4 separate regions of the Homo sapiens genome follow, and regions 2, 3 and 4 are each linked to region 1. Evidence: promoter capture Hi-C in 16 types of primary human blood cells and fetal thymus (Javierre and others, 2016). All regions are on one chromosome and are shown on one strand. Each heading gives the region's core, a stretch centred on a gene start or on the middle of the fragment in contact. The rest is flanking DNA. Distances are from core to core; before and after follow the strand shown. Region 1 holds the start of GAP43 (growth associated protein 43). Region 2 overlaps ZBTB20 (zinc finger and BTB domain containing 20). Region 3 has its middle 56 kb from the start of ZBTB20. Region 4 has its middle 85 kb from the start of ZBTB20.

Region 1 (3,005 bases), core at 363-2,862:
CCCTTCCTTCCAGGGCGCTGGCTAAATGTGCTAAGCTGGCAGGCTGTTTCTTCTCCACTCTCTTCCACCCCCTTCGGATTCAGGGAGTGTATTACAAATTGCCCAATTTCCAATACCTGCACTGGAAATTATACCCAAATTCCATCTCTTGCACCCCACCCCTAAGGCAATCAGTCTGCGAAGGGCTTCTTTGACCAAGATTGCCCCCACCACACCCCCACCCCCACCACAGTCAAGCATACGCACACACTCACCCGTATCCCACACCCATTTTTCTCTTTAACCTTTGCCAAAATCACTCAAATGCATTCCAACAAATGTTTGAAAGCTTCTTTTGGAGACTGCCATGGCATGGTCGGTTGCTGCGGAATACCACACTCGTCATTCCTTCCCACTCTCACCCCAATCAAGTTTCTAAAATGTCTTTCAAGAAATAAGCGAGCAATTGGAAATGGCTGTAAAACCTGGGCAGTGGGGGAGGGAAGGAGGGGCTCTGATTCTTGCTAATCTTGGATGTGTCCCTCTTCCTGATGAAAATGAGTCACCATACTTATTATCCAGGATGTTAGCCTGTCTCTGGTCACTGACAATCCCAGGAAAGAAGCAAGGGAAGGGGATAAGAGAAAAGACCTGGTTTCCAACAGGTAATACCCGGCTGTCTTTCCCATCCCATCGGAGCTCCTAGGGGCGTGGTCCACCCTCTCCTCCGACCAGCTGGTGCACAATCGGCTGCTGATCTTAGGAAGGGGATTTTCTCCTTCTGCATGGCCAATTTCTCCCCCAGCCCCAGTTGTCTTAGCTTCTCTTAAAAAAAAAAAAAATCTATCAAATCACAGTTTCATTCATTCATTGAAAAATAAATACTAAATAAATAAGACCTGCACGTTTTTCCATAAATACCTGCGCCCCTTCGAAGCTCATGCATGCACGAAATAAGGCATCTTCCGCAGCACATGTGAGAAAATTGTATGACAGAGAGGCAATACTCAGTTCTGAATATTATTTCCTCAACCCTGCTTTTTTGCAAATAATATAAAGAAATGCCTCCCCATCTTGTAGGTAGAGCCCACATCATCTCCCCCACACCCCTTTCTACGTCCACACCCTCAAGACCAGAGACCTCAAATGCTGAGCATTCACTAATAAGAAAAAAAAAAATTATTTCTAGCCAAACAGGCATGTTTTTTCTACCCTCACCCTAATTAGTAGCAGCATTCCAAAACCAGAGCATGAAAGACAGAAAAGAATAAAAGCTGGGATGCAACCATCAGTTACCATATGCTAAGGAAGCGCGAGCACCACGGCCAGAGCAGAAGCAGTAAAAAAATTGTTTGCCTTTACGGGGAAATACTGTACTCGGGTTATTTCACAACAGCAAGAAGTAAAAAATCTTTAGCTCTACCTGTTTGGTTCTTCTCATACAGCACAGCATGGTTGTCTCGTCCCTTGCCTTCTTCCTGCCTTCTCTCCTTTCCTTCTCTCTCTTTCTTATTCCCCCCCTCTCCACCTCTTTTCTGCTCGCTTGCTCACTCGCTCTCTCGCGCTAGCGCGCTCTCTCTCCCTCCCTCCCTCTCTCTCCCTCACACACACCAGGGCAGTTAGCAGCAACTGTAAGGTCCACAGCTATTGCTCATCGCACATGCTCGCTCCCTCTCTCTAGCGCTCTCTCTCTCTCTCCCTCTCTCTCTGGTGCTCTCTCTCCGCTGTCCTCTCTTCCCTCTCTTCTCCTTTTTTCTCCTTCCCCCCAATATCTATCTATCTGTCTTTTTCTTCCCTCTCTCTCCGTCTCTTTCTCGGAATTGTTCTCTAGCCTTCAGTGACTAATCACTTCCCCCAGCCCCTACCCCCATTCTAGACAGTCGCCCCCTCCCAGTCCCCTGCCAGCCTCATGAATATTTAAACACCTCCAATCTGGACCCAATTACCCACCGACTTTTCCACTGCATTGAGAGGGTGATGGGGTGGGGGCAGAGAAGGATATTCCAGTCAATCCAGGAGATATGATAGAGCATGTTTTAGGGAAGAGGGGCTTGAGGAATCCTTGTATTTCTTTAAGAACTCTTTTCCTCTTTTCCTAGTATTATAAAAGCAAAGAACAGCTATTTCTAAAGAGGAATTGTAGTCAGTCCTATACAATATAAGTCATATCTGCCATTACATTTTATGCATAGTTAATAATTGTGGAGGTTAATTTCCCTCAAAAAATGAAATAACATGTAAATATCATACACTGTTTATATATTCTTCTCAGTATACATATAACCTGAAATAAATACAAAGCTTAGATATGCACAAGCATATTTTATATATGTTCCAATATCCTGGAAAAAAATCCACATAAATATATTGCATTTTAAACATTCTAAGCACTTGAGCTCAGAAATAATAAACAATGTTTAAGAATTGGCATCCATATCTAAAATCACATGGTAGTTTTTTGTTTTTTCCTTAATGCACATATACCTGTTTGTAAATTGTGGTTTCTTCTAATTTTACTGAAAAAGCTGAGCACATTCAAACAGGTCTGTGTAATATTGACGGTGATCAAAATGATATTTTACAATTTGGGCATGAGAGATTAAAGTGAATTCATCTGAGATGAGAAGAAACGATAAGTCATGAAGCCTACTTCTTGAATTCCTTCTATGGCCTTTCATAATTTTGGGGGAGGAACATGTGACTCTTAAAGTGTGTATAGCACAATTTTTAGTTATTTATTGTTGAATGAGTTTGAGTGTGTTACTGAAGCTCTTTGCACCTAATTTTCTCATCTTTAAAATGGAGATAATAATGCCAATCTTGACAACATGTTTTGAGGACTAAATGATATAACGCATGCAAAGCACAACAGTCTCTCTGAGTGTATAATAGCTTTACTCCAGAGACTGTACTTTTCTGAAATTCGGGTGACATTTGCAAGTGAATATCTCAAAGAAGTTTTCAAACTATTTCTTGTTGTTCATTAGTGATGACAAGTACCCCTAATTAAACAGCTCATATTCTTC
Region 2 (3,005 bases), core at 208-2,707, 510 kb after region 1:
ACTCAAGAATTAATAAATTTTGTGTGCTTTGACTAGAGCCTTGCACTTTGTATGTTCACAAAAATGTTATCTCTTATTATCAATCTAATGTAGTTATCAAACAGTTCTGTGATATAGTTATTCTTATTTTATAGATAAGCTATATGAGACTCATGGATAAGTAACCTGCTTCAATATACATATCCAATAAATATTTTTAAAATCTGAGTCCAAAGCCCATACTGTAGAATAGTGGCCTCAAAAATAAAGTCCATGCATTCCAAGAAATATGCAAGATGATGCGTTAGGGTTTGAGAGGAAATAAAAATTGTTATTTGTGTTTTTTATTTAAAAAATCTAAGAAGTTAAAGTTACCAGCAGTTAATATGCCCAGATAGAGCTGGGCAATATCAGAGCATTATTTACATGCATTGCTACTTAAACAGAACATCCTGATGGGAGAGAGTGGAGTTTGTTAAAGAGTTGGAGCTACTAAATGTTATCTGTGCCTTGTTATGTGGAGTCACAGATTAGTGACAGATTAGTTTAACTAAAACTAACTCTTACAAAACAGACAACTGACTGAAAAAAAGCATAGAAAAGATGATACTAATAATCCAAGCCCATTTGAAAAAGAACATCCCTGAAACATATTATGAACACTTTGTAAACTACATTATAAAGTAAGAACAATGATGATTTAGCAATATTTGAACATTGATCAAAAATAATAATCAAGAAGTCTATTTGAAATGATTTATATTCACTGTCATTGAAAAAGAATGTCACCCTCAGTGTATGGTGTGCGATGGTGGAAGACCATTTCATTGGTAAGGCATTAAAATCTAACTACCTAGATCATGAATCAAGCAGTGTTTAATGTCACGTGAGACTCAGTACAGACTTTACAAAATCATTAAATTAATATTTAGAAGACTTTTGGGGATTTAAAAAACAATATTAAAATACAAACATATTTACCATTGGAAACACTGTTCTTCAAGAGCAATAATGGCTGAAATAATGTGTGAAAAATAATATGGCAACAAACTATCACATTTGTCAGCAAATACTGCTAGAATATGTATAGAAAACATTGCTGAAGATTTGCAAAAACAAGTATTGAACAAATTATGCAGTGTGGAATGTTTACTATATAGTTAAATGAAAGTACCAATATTTCTAACATTTCATCCAATGATATTTGCTAGGCTCAATTGAAATAATTCGAAGAACTATGTTGTTATAAATCACCAAAATAATCACTGGAGAAGATTGTGGCTAAACAGCAAAATACTGCCCTACAGTAAAACAGTGTGTTCTTGAAAATCTATGTTATCTATAGTTACATAGTTTTAGAATATTGGAGTGGTCGATTTGAATGGAATAGAAAAAAGCTTGCCGAGGCAGGTTACAGAACTACTTCTACACATGAAATCCCTTCAGTCTTTTACAGACAAGCTATTTTAACAAATAAATTGAAGTCACAAGTACACACAAGTGCTGTAGGACATCATTGATGTGGTCACTTTGTTTTCGTTTTTTAAGTTAAAGCTTTAAAATGTAGTCAAAAATATGTTACCAAATGTGAAAGAATCTTAAAATTTTAGTGGAATCTTTATGATACTTTGTAATAAGATGGAGAATGGGCCATGAATATCATTTGCACCACTTGAGGTTCACTGGTTATCCAGTGGTAGAGTATTGAGAAGTAATAAGAAATTTATGGCAGTTATGCATTTTTCTTTTACAGAATGACAAGGTTCTAATTTTACTCACCTTTTCTGTTATGACAGGTGACTGTCCATACTATGCGCTCTAATGTATATTTTTGAAAAATAACATATTCGATCTGTCTTTTTAAAGTAGTAGTACTAATAATGAGTGAGAAGGTAACTGCTTTTTGAAGGACCTGTGGTTATGGAGAAAACATTTCATATTGAATGTTTGTAATTCTTTTCATTACAATGTGATTTTCTTGCCAAAAACCAATGTATTTGTAAAACTAGTTTCTATATACATTGAAAATTGTACAAAAATATATTGGCATATTTTGTAAAACTTGGAACATAATGTTATAACTTACTTTAAGATCTTTCAAATGTAATCTTTAAATTGATTTTAAAATCCTTTTGTTAAAAAATAAAACGCTACACCTCTTAGTTTATAGGAATGACTTATTCATCTGAAGATGGAAATTTACTAGCTAAATTTCAACAAAGTATTTTACATAATTGGCCATTAATATTGAAAATTGATTATTTTGATGTAGTAAGCACAGCCATTGATACTCTTCTTCCATTTGAATTTACTATTTTGTGAGGCTTTCTCCCTCAACTTACCACCACCCCTCCTCTGCACCCATGACAACCATTATATCTAAGTAACCTGAAAATAGTACTGTATTTTCAGATGACTGTTTTACAAAGTGTAAAACCAAGCCAAGACGTAGAGAATGACACATATTTACTCAAATTTTTGTTTTAATGTTTTTCAGTAAGAGCATCAAGAGCAGTTTGCTCTTCAGTAAGAGCAAAATGTTTTAAAATTGTTGATAAACAGAGCCCCAAATTTAGAATGTTTACTTCTTGTTTACCTCAGTCTTTTAAAATATCTATTGCTGCATGTTCTGTAATGTATGTATTGTAGTAATGTATGTATATTATAAATAATTATGCATATATTGGAGTATGGGCTTATATTAATCAATGCCAAGACAAACAGAAATGACTCAGAAAAGAGGAACTTCAATCCAGGGAATTGATTACAAAAGTGTTGGAAAGTCTGGTTGAGCAAATAGAAGGTGGCAATATTATTTAGTAACAAATTCCTTCAGAAAGCAAGGGAAAGTTTTGTTATCCAGAGCCTATAAGTATTATGCTGCCGCTGCTGCTGCTGCTTCCACATTTTGCTGTGGCTGTTGGAATCACCAATCTCACTGCACTGTAGGAAGCCAGGTGTCCGCACTCCTATGGACACTTCAAGAATCCAGGATAATATGTAATTTCTTGAATTCTGTTGTGCTT
Region 3 (3,005 bases), core at 365-2,864, 420 kb after region 1:
CTTGGCAGTAAGACTGGTCTTCAAAGAGGAGTATAAATTTGAACCTAGTCCAGACTTATGCTGATATTCAGGAGATTCTACCTAAGAAGTCAGAGCACTATAGGAAGAGTCTCTGGATAGTAGCTATACTTCTTGTTGGGCACACTTTGGTCTGCAATTAAGTTAGTCCAGTTTGAAAGTGGCCCGAAAGAAAGTTCAGTCCCCAGAGAAAGTAGATTTACAGAAAAAAAAAAGGAAAGAGGATTAGAGTATTAGGTCAATGATGAGGAGGTTATGGTCCCAGTAGAAAGTTAGATTGCACACCAGACAGGAAGCAGAAACCATGCACACGGACTAGTTACATATGTTGAACATTACTGGGCAGATTGCCCCTTACTGCAGAAGCATGTGGCAAAGGGCTTTGCCCAGGACACTAAAACTCAGCCTGGAGGCCACAGACCATTTCCAGACTCTATTCACTTATAAATTTGAACAACTAAAGTACTGACAAGTTTGATTTCCACTGGTTTAGGGAGTTGTAGAATTTAACCTATAGGAGAAAGATTGTTGATGCTGGTGTTTGGACAAGACTGGGAAAAAGCAAGAACTAAGTAATATATATCTGTAAGAAAATGAGGGCTAAGGAACTAGAAGACACTTGAATGGCTTTAGAATAGGAATAATCATAGACACTGTTCCACAGAAAGTGGAAAACCTTCTTTCTGTGGAAGAAGTGTGTTGGGTAATTTTTAAAATCTCTACTTATTGTTTATTCCTTTGTCCTTGTGAGCACAGTCACGTCATTATTTGCAGTCATAAGATTTCCAAGCCACAATTACCTTATACAAAGCTTTTGTTAATATTTTGTGCCATTTTCTTTCTGGCAGAACAGGCTTAAGAATGAATAACAAGTAATTTATTTGGTTAATCGATATATTGCAAGATATCTACTTTATTTTCTTCCTAAAGCTACACAAACTATCCATAGCAACTCTGTACAGTAACAGCAACACATCACCTGCTTCACTGCCTGCCTTAGCATCTCTCTACTACTCCCAGCTACGGTCATTTGAAGGCCATTTACACACTGTATTCTTCTGGTTGGGAAAAATGAGAAGCTTAGATGACAGCCATTTTACCCAATCTACCTTACTGCTAGCCTTGTTCTAAGTTTATGGGAACAAATCTTGAACTTCAAAATTAAAGGTAATACCACACACGGATGATTAGTGGTATAAATGATTAGCAGTATAAGCAGTTAGCAGTAAAAACCTAGGTCTTGTCTCCAGTGACCAGTCCCCACTTCCTGTCAGAGTCCCAGTGACTGGGTCTGTCTATTTACTGTGCCTAATTGATTGCACATTCTTCATTCAATCATTTAAGAATTATTAATTGACATCTACTTTGTGACAGGCATTATTCTAGGTAGGAGGAATACAACAGTAAGTAAAACAGACAAAAATCTCTGCCCTTAGGACTTTCATTCCAGTTGAAGAGGGAGACCAGCATAGCTGGAGCAGGGAGTGCCAGGGGAGAGCAGCAAAAGATGGCACATTTCTTTACAAGAAGTAAAGAGGTTTAGTAAAGCAATGATTACATAAGCTCTGCAAATCATGGTAGGGAGTTTGGATTTTATTTTCAGTGGGATAAGAAGCTACTCAACAGCTTTGAGCATAAAAGTAACAAGATCTTGTTTACATTTTAAAAGAATTTCTTGGGCTGCTATGTGGAAAAACTAGAGTGGGAGCAAAAAGTAGAACTAGAAGGCTTTTGTAGTTGTGTAAGGCAGACATGACTATCGTTTAGACTAGGACAAGGCAGTTGAGATAGCAAGTGGTTGATTTGTGCTAGATGTTTACGGCAGAACTGATAGAATTTGCTAATGGATTGAATTTAGGGAGGGGAAAATAGAAATCAAGGATGATTCTTAGGTTTTTACCTGAGCAACTGCGTAAAAAGAGTGCCATTTGCTATAGAAACATCAAGTTTGGACGGTTCAATTTTGGATTTGGGATATGTTAAGTCTGAGATGACTATTAGATATTCAAATAGAAGTGCCAAATTGGAAGTTGGATAGAGCCAGGAAGATGAGGAAGAAGATCATGCTGGAGAAAGACATTTGTGAGTCACCAGTGGATCTGTGTAAGCTTTTAAGGAAATAAATTTATCTGCTGTGTTCTGAGGAAAGAAGAATTTATTCCCTTGTAATGCAACTATGGTATATTTCTTTGCCATGTAAGTCCCAAAACATACCCTGTATAGGTTATATTATGTTGATTGCAAGCAACAGAAACCATGTCTGAATAACTCAGGCCAAAAAAAAGGTAAAAAGAAAAATAACATTTATTAAAAGTAATCTTTCAGTTCTCACACTGAATGAAATAAAAAGTTGAAAACCTCAACTCAGGAAAGGTAGCAACCAAGGCCTCACCAGAGACCTTAGTGGTAAGAGTTTGAGAAACTGACATTAATAATATTCAGTTCCAATGACTTCAAGTCTGCCTAAGTCACGATGATGCCCTAAAAAAGCAGGTGAAGCACTGACTGTCCCTCATCTATTAAGCAAAGGAGTAGAAATAAATCCTTGCTACTCAATATGTGGTCCTTGGGTGGACCAACAGCTTGTTTAGAATGCAGAATCTCAGATTGTACACTCTGGACCATCAATCAGAATTTTCATTTTAACAACACCCCCAAGTGATTTATATGCACATTAAAGTTTAAGAAACACGGCCAGGTGCAGTGGCTCACACCTGTAATCCCAGCACTTTGGGAAACTGAAGCAAAACGATCAATTGAGCCCAGGAGTTCAAAACCAGCCTGGGCAACATGGCAACACCCAGTCTCTACAAAATAATTGAAATATTAGCCAGGCATGGTTGTTTATGCCTGTGGTCCCAGATACTCAGGAGACTGAGGCAGGAGGATTGCTTAAGCCCAAGAGGTGGAGGCTGCAATGAGTCAAGATCGTGCCACTGCACTCCAGCCTGAGTGACAGAAAGAGCAAGACCCTGTCTCAAAAATAA
Region 4 (3,005 bases), core at 355-2,854, 390 kb after region 1:
GAAAGTCCTGATTTGTATCATTTGCCAATTTCTGTGGCTTTAATTCTTCTACCATGGTCAATTTTAAGCTGACAATATAATGCCACTGAATGAAGAGTTGGAAGGAGATGAGCAGTAGCATGCTATTTTGCAGTATTTCCACCACTTACAGATACAGTAGATGTAAATAACAGCATAAAGTAAATGTAAAATGTAGTAAAAAATTAAGAAGTGATGAGCCTTGAGTATGTATTGCCTTTGTTTTAATATTATTTATTTAAGTGTATATGAATATAATTTATTTTATTTTATTTTTGTTTTTGTAGAGACAGGGTCTCACTATGTTGCCCAGGCTGGTCTCAAACTCCTGTCATCAAAGCAATACTCCTGCCTCGGCCTCCCAAAGTGCTAAGATTACAGGCATGAGCTTCTGTACCCATCTTATTTTTTAATAATGACTGTTTAATAAGTGACTCACAAGATTCCTGAAAATTTAACAATCTGCTCTCAGGAACTGGTGCAAGCCAGATTCAGAACATCTCTGTAACATCCTTCCCTTTTTCAATTGGTGAATGCAGCAATAGTTGAGGACCACTGCTTTAATGTTAATTGGCATAGCCCCATTGCTTACTCATTACTGTGAGCATGCCCAGCTCCTCTTAATCGGGCATAACCAGCCAGGAAGAGGGAGAAGCAAATAAATTACCCCCTTTCCTTCTATCACTCTCCACTCATGCTTCTCTGAATCCTTGCTTCAGGATTGCCCCTGGAATGACACATCAACGTATTTCCTATCATTTTAAACCCTGTGTTTCCTTCAAAATAGTTATGCACATAACTACAATGTTTAATAAGTGCTTCCATCTCTCTTAAAAGAATCACTTGATTGTTCATGGGTTATATTGTAAAGCAAGAGGGTGAGAGGAACTTTTTTATTCCTAATAAATACTGTTAAGAGTATTGATGCCTTAAACTACTGAGTGAGCACCCTCTTGGCTTAAGCTTCAGTACGATATATCCATCCATTATTTATAACCATTTAAAATTTTTAAGTAGTCCAATCCATGGTGTTACTTACACTTATCTTTTCTATGTTCTAAATCGTGTGGCTTCAGTTTAACAATGAGAAACATAATATGTATTTTCATATCCCAGCTGAGAAGACTAAATTTTCACCACTTTTACATACACTTTACATAGAAGGAACAATCACAACAGAGTAATTCTAGCACAGAATTTTATCATAACCAAAACAAAAAATATTGTTTAACAGTATATACTGCACTTCCTGTAATCTTTACTCAACCTAAAAGCACAAATTTACATGGATTTTCAAGGTACAAATCCTGAGATTGCACCCCTAAGCCACTTGGCTTATAAAACAGATGACTCCTTTCTGTAAATATTAGGCTACACTGCCATAGTCACAGAATAATAATGCTGGAAGGAAATTAGACAGTATATTATCTAGCCTACCTCTTAATGCCCAGAGAATTTGAAAGTTGACACATGCATGCACACGCGCGCACACACACACACACACACACACAATCACCCAGCTAGTTAATAACCAAAAAAATAACTAGGCCGAGCACAGTGGCTCATGCTTGTAATCCCAGCACTTTGGGAGGCTGAGGTGGCAAATCATTTGAGGTCAGAAGTTTGAGACGAGCTTGGCTAACATGGTGAAACTTTGTCTCTACTAAAAATACAGAAATTAGCCAGGTGTGGTCCCACATGCCTGTAATCCCAGCTACTTGGGAGGCCGAGCCACGAGAATCACTAGAACTTGGGAGGTGGAGTTTGCAGTGAGCCGAGATCATGCCACTGCACTCCAGCCTGGGTGACAGAGCAAGACTCCATCTCAAAAAAAAAAACAAAAAAAGAAAAAAGAAAAAAAAAAACCCCTAATATTTATTGAGCATATATATATATCCTATATGTATCATATATAGAGGAGTTTGAGTATATATATGATATATATAGGAGATATAGGAGATATATATCATATATATGGGAGTTTATAAAGTATATATATATCTCCTATTTATATCATATATATATATGATATAAACTCCTATATATATATATGGGAGTTAGATGTAAAAGATATAGAACTTGTATAAGTTTCAGTGATTCAGAACTAAAATAAGTGATGAAGCTCCAAAATGATCCATATATATGGGAGTTTATTAAGTATTAACTTATGTGATCACTAGGTCCCGTAATAGGTTGTCTGCAAGCTTGAGGAACAAGAAGAGCCAGTCCAAGTCTCAAAACTGAAGAACTTGGAGTCCAGTGTTCCAGGGCAGGAAGCATCCAGCATGGGAGAAAGATGTAGGCTGGGAAGCTAAGCCAGTCTCACCTTTTCATGTTTTTCTGTCTGCTTTATATTTGCTGGTAGCTGATTAGATGGTGCCCACCAGGTTAAGGGTAGGTCTGCCTTTCCCAGCCCATTCAGTCAAATGTTAAGCTCCTTTGGCAACACCCTCACAGACACACCCAGGATCAATACTTTGTGTCCTTCAATCCAATCAAGTTGACACTCCGTATTAACCATCACAGATAGGTAGATAAATGAGTGCCCTAGGAGTGTGTGTATATATATATGTGTGTGTGTGTGTGTGTGTGTGTGTGTATGTATATATACACATAAATATATGTTTATATATATGAATTTATATATATATGAGTATATATATATGAATTTATATATATATGAGTTTGTATATATGAGTTTATATATATATATGTTCATATATATATATATATATATCCTATTAGTTCTATCCCTCTAATACACTACCCAGTCAGAGAACCCTAATACATTACCCAATCAGAACTTAATCACTCTCACTTTATGTACACTTCTAACAGCTTGTCTTTATGGGTTCCAAGACCACAGCAGACTATAAGCAACATGATTTTATTAGGGAGAGGACCTACTTAAATCAATATACTATACATTGATAGTATAAAAGTGAAAAGAGTTATTATGTATGGAATGTCTGCAATATGAAAGACAA

Evidence for each region. Contacts are between HindIII fragments. The CHiCAGO score rates a contact against its expected background, and 5 or more counts as called.
Region 2: a contact is called between a fragment that was not itself captured here and the fragment with the promoter of GAP43 in region 1, in 1 of 17 cell types (total B cells). The highest score is 5.6, in total B cells.
Region 3: a fragment that was not itself captured here is called in contact with the fragment with the promoter of GAP43 in region 1 in 1 of 17 cell types (endothelial precursors); the score reaches 5.6 in endothelial precursors.
Region 4: a contact is called between a fragment that was not itself captured here and the fragment with the promoter of GAP43 in region 1, in 2 of 17 cell types (megakaryocytes and total CD8 T cells). The highest score is 5.4, in megakaryocytes.

The regions. Positions count from the first base shown.
Region 1 is chr3:115,622,117-115,625,121 of GRCh38, reverse strand. GAP43 (growth associated protein 43) reads right to left here and starts at 1,612. Exons shown (of 3, transcript NM_002045.4): 1 at 1,403-1,612. The coding sequence starts at 1,432. The HindIII fragment of the contact is 1,952 bases long and covers 331-2,282 here.
Region 2 is chr3:115,113,640-115,116,644 of GRCh38, reverse strand. All of the region lies in intron 1 of ZBTB20 (zinc finger and BTB domain containing 20), which reads left to right. Among named protein-coding and RNA genes, the nearest start is that of ZBTB20-AS4, 15 kb to the right of the region's middle. The HindIII fragment of the contact is 157 bases long and covers 1,379-1,535 here.
Region 3 is chr3:115,201,560-115,204,564 of GRCh38, reverse strand. No RefSeq gene overlaps it. Among named protein-coding and RNA genes, the nearest start is that of ZBTB20, 56 kb to the right of the region's middle. The HindIII fragment of the contact is 1,029 bases long and covers 1,100-2,128 here.
Region 4 is chr3:115,230,772-115,233,776 of GRCh38, reverse strand. No RefSeq gene overlaps it. Among named protein-coding and RNA genes, the nearest start is that of ZBTB20, 85 kb to the right of the region's middle. The HindIII fragment of the contact is 1,241 bases long and covers 984-2,224 here.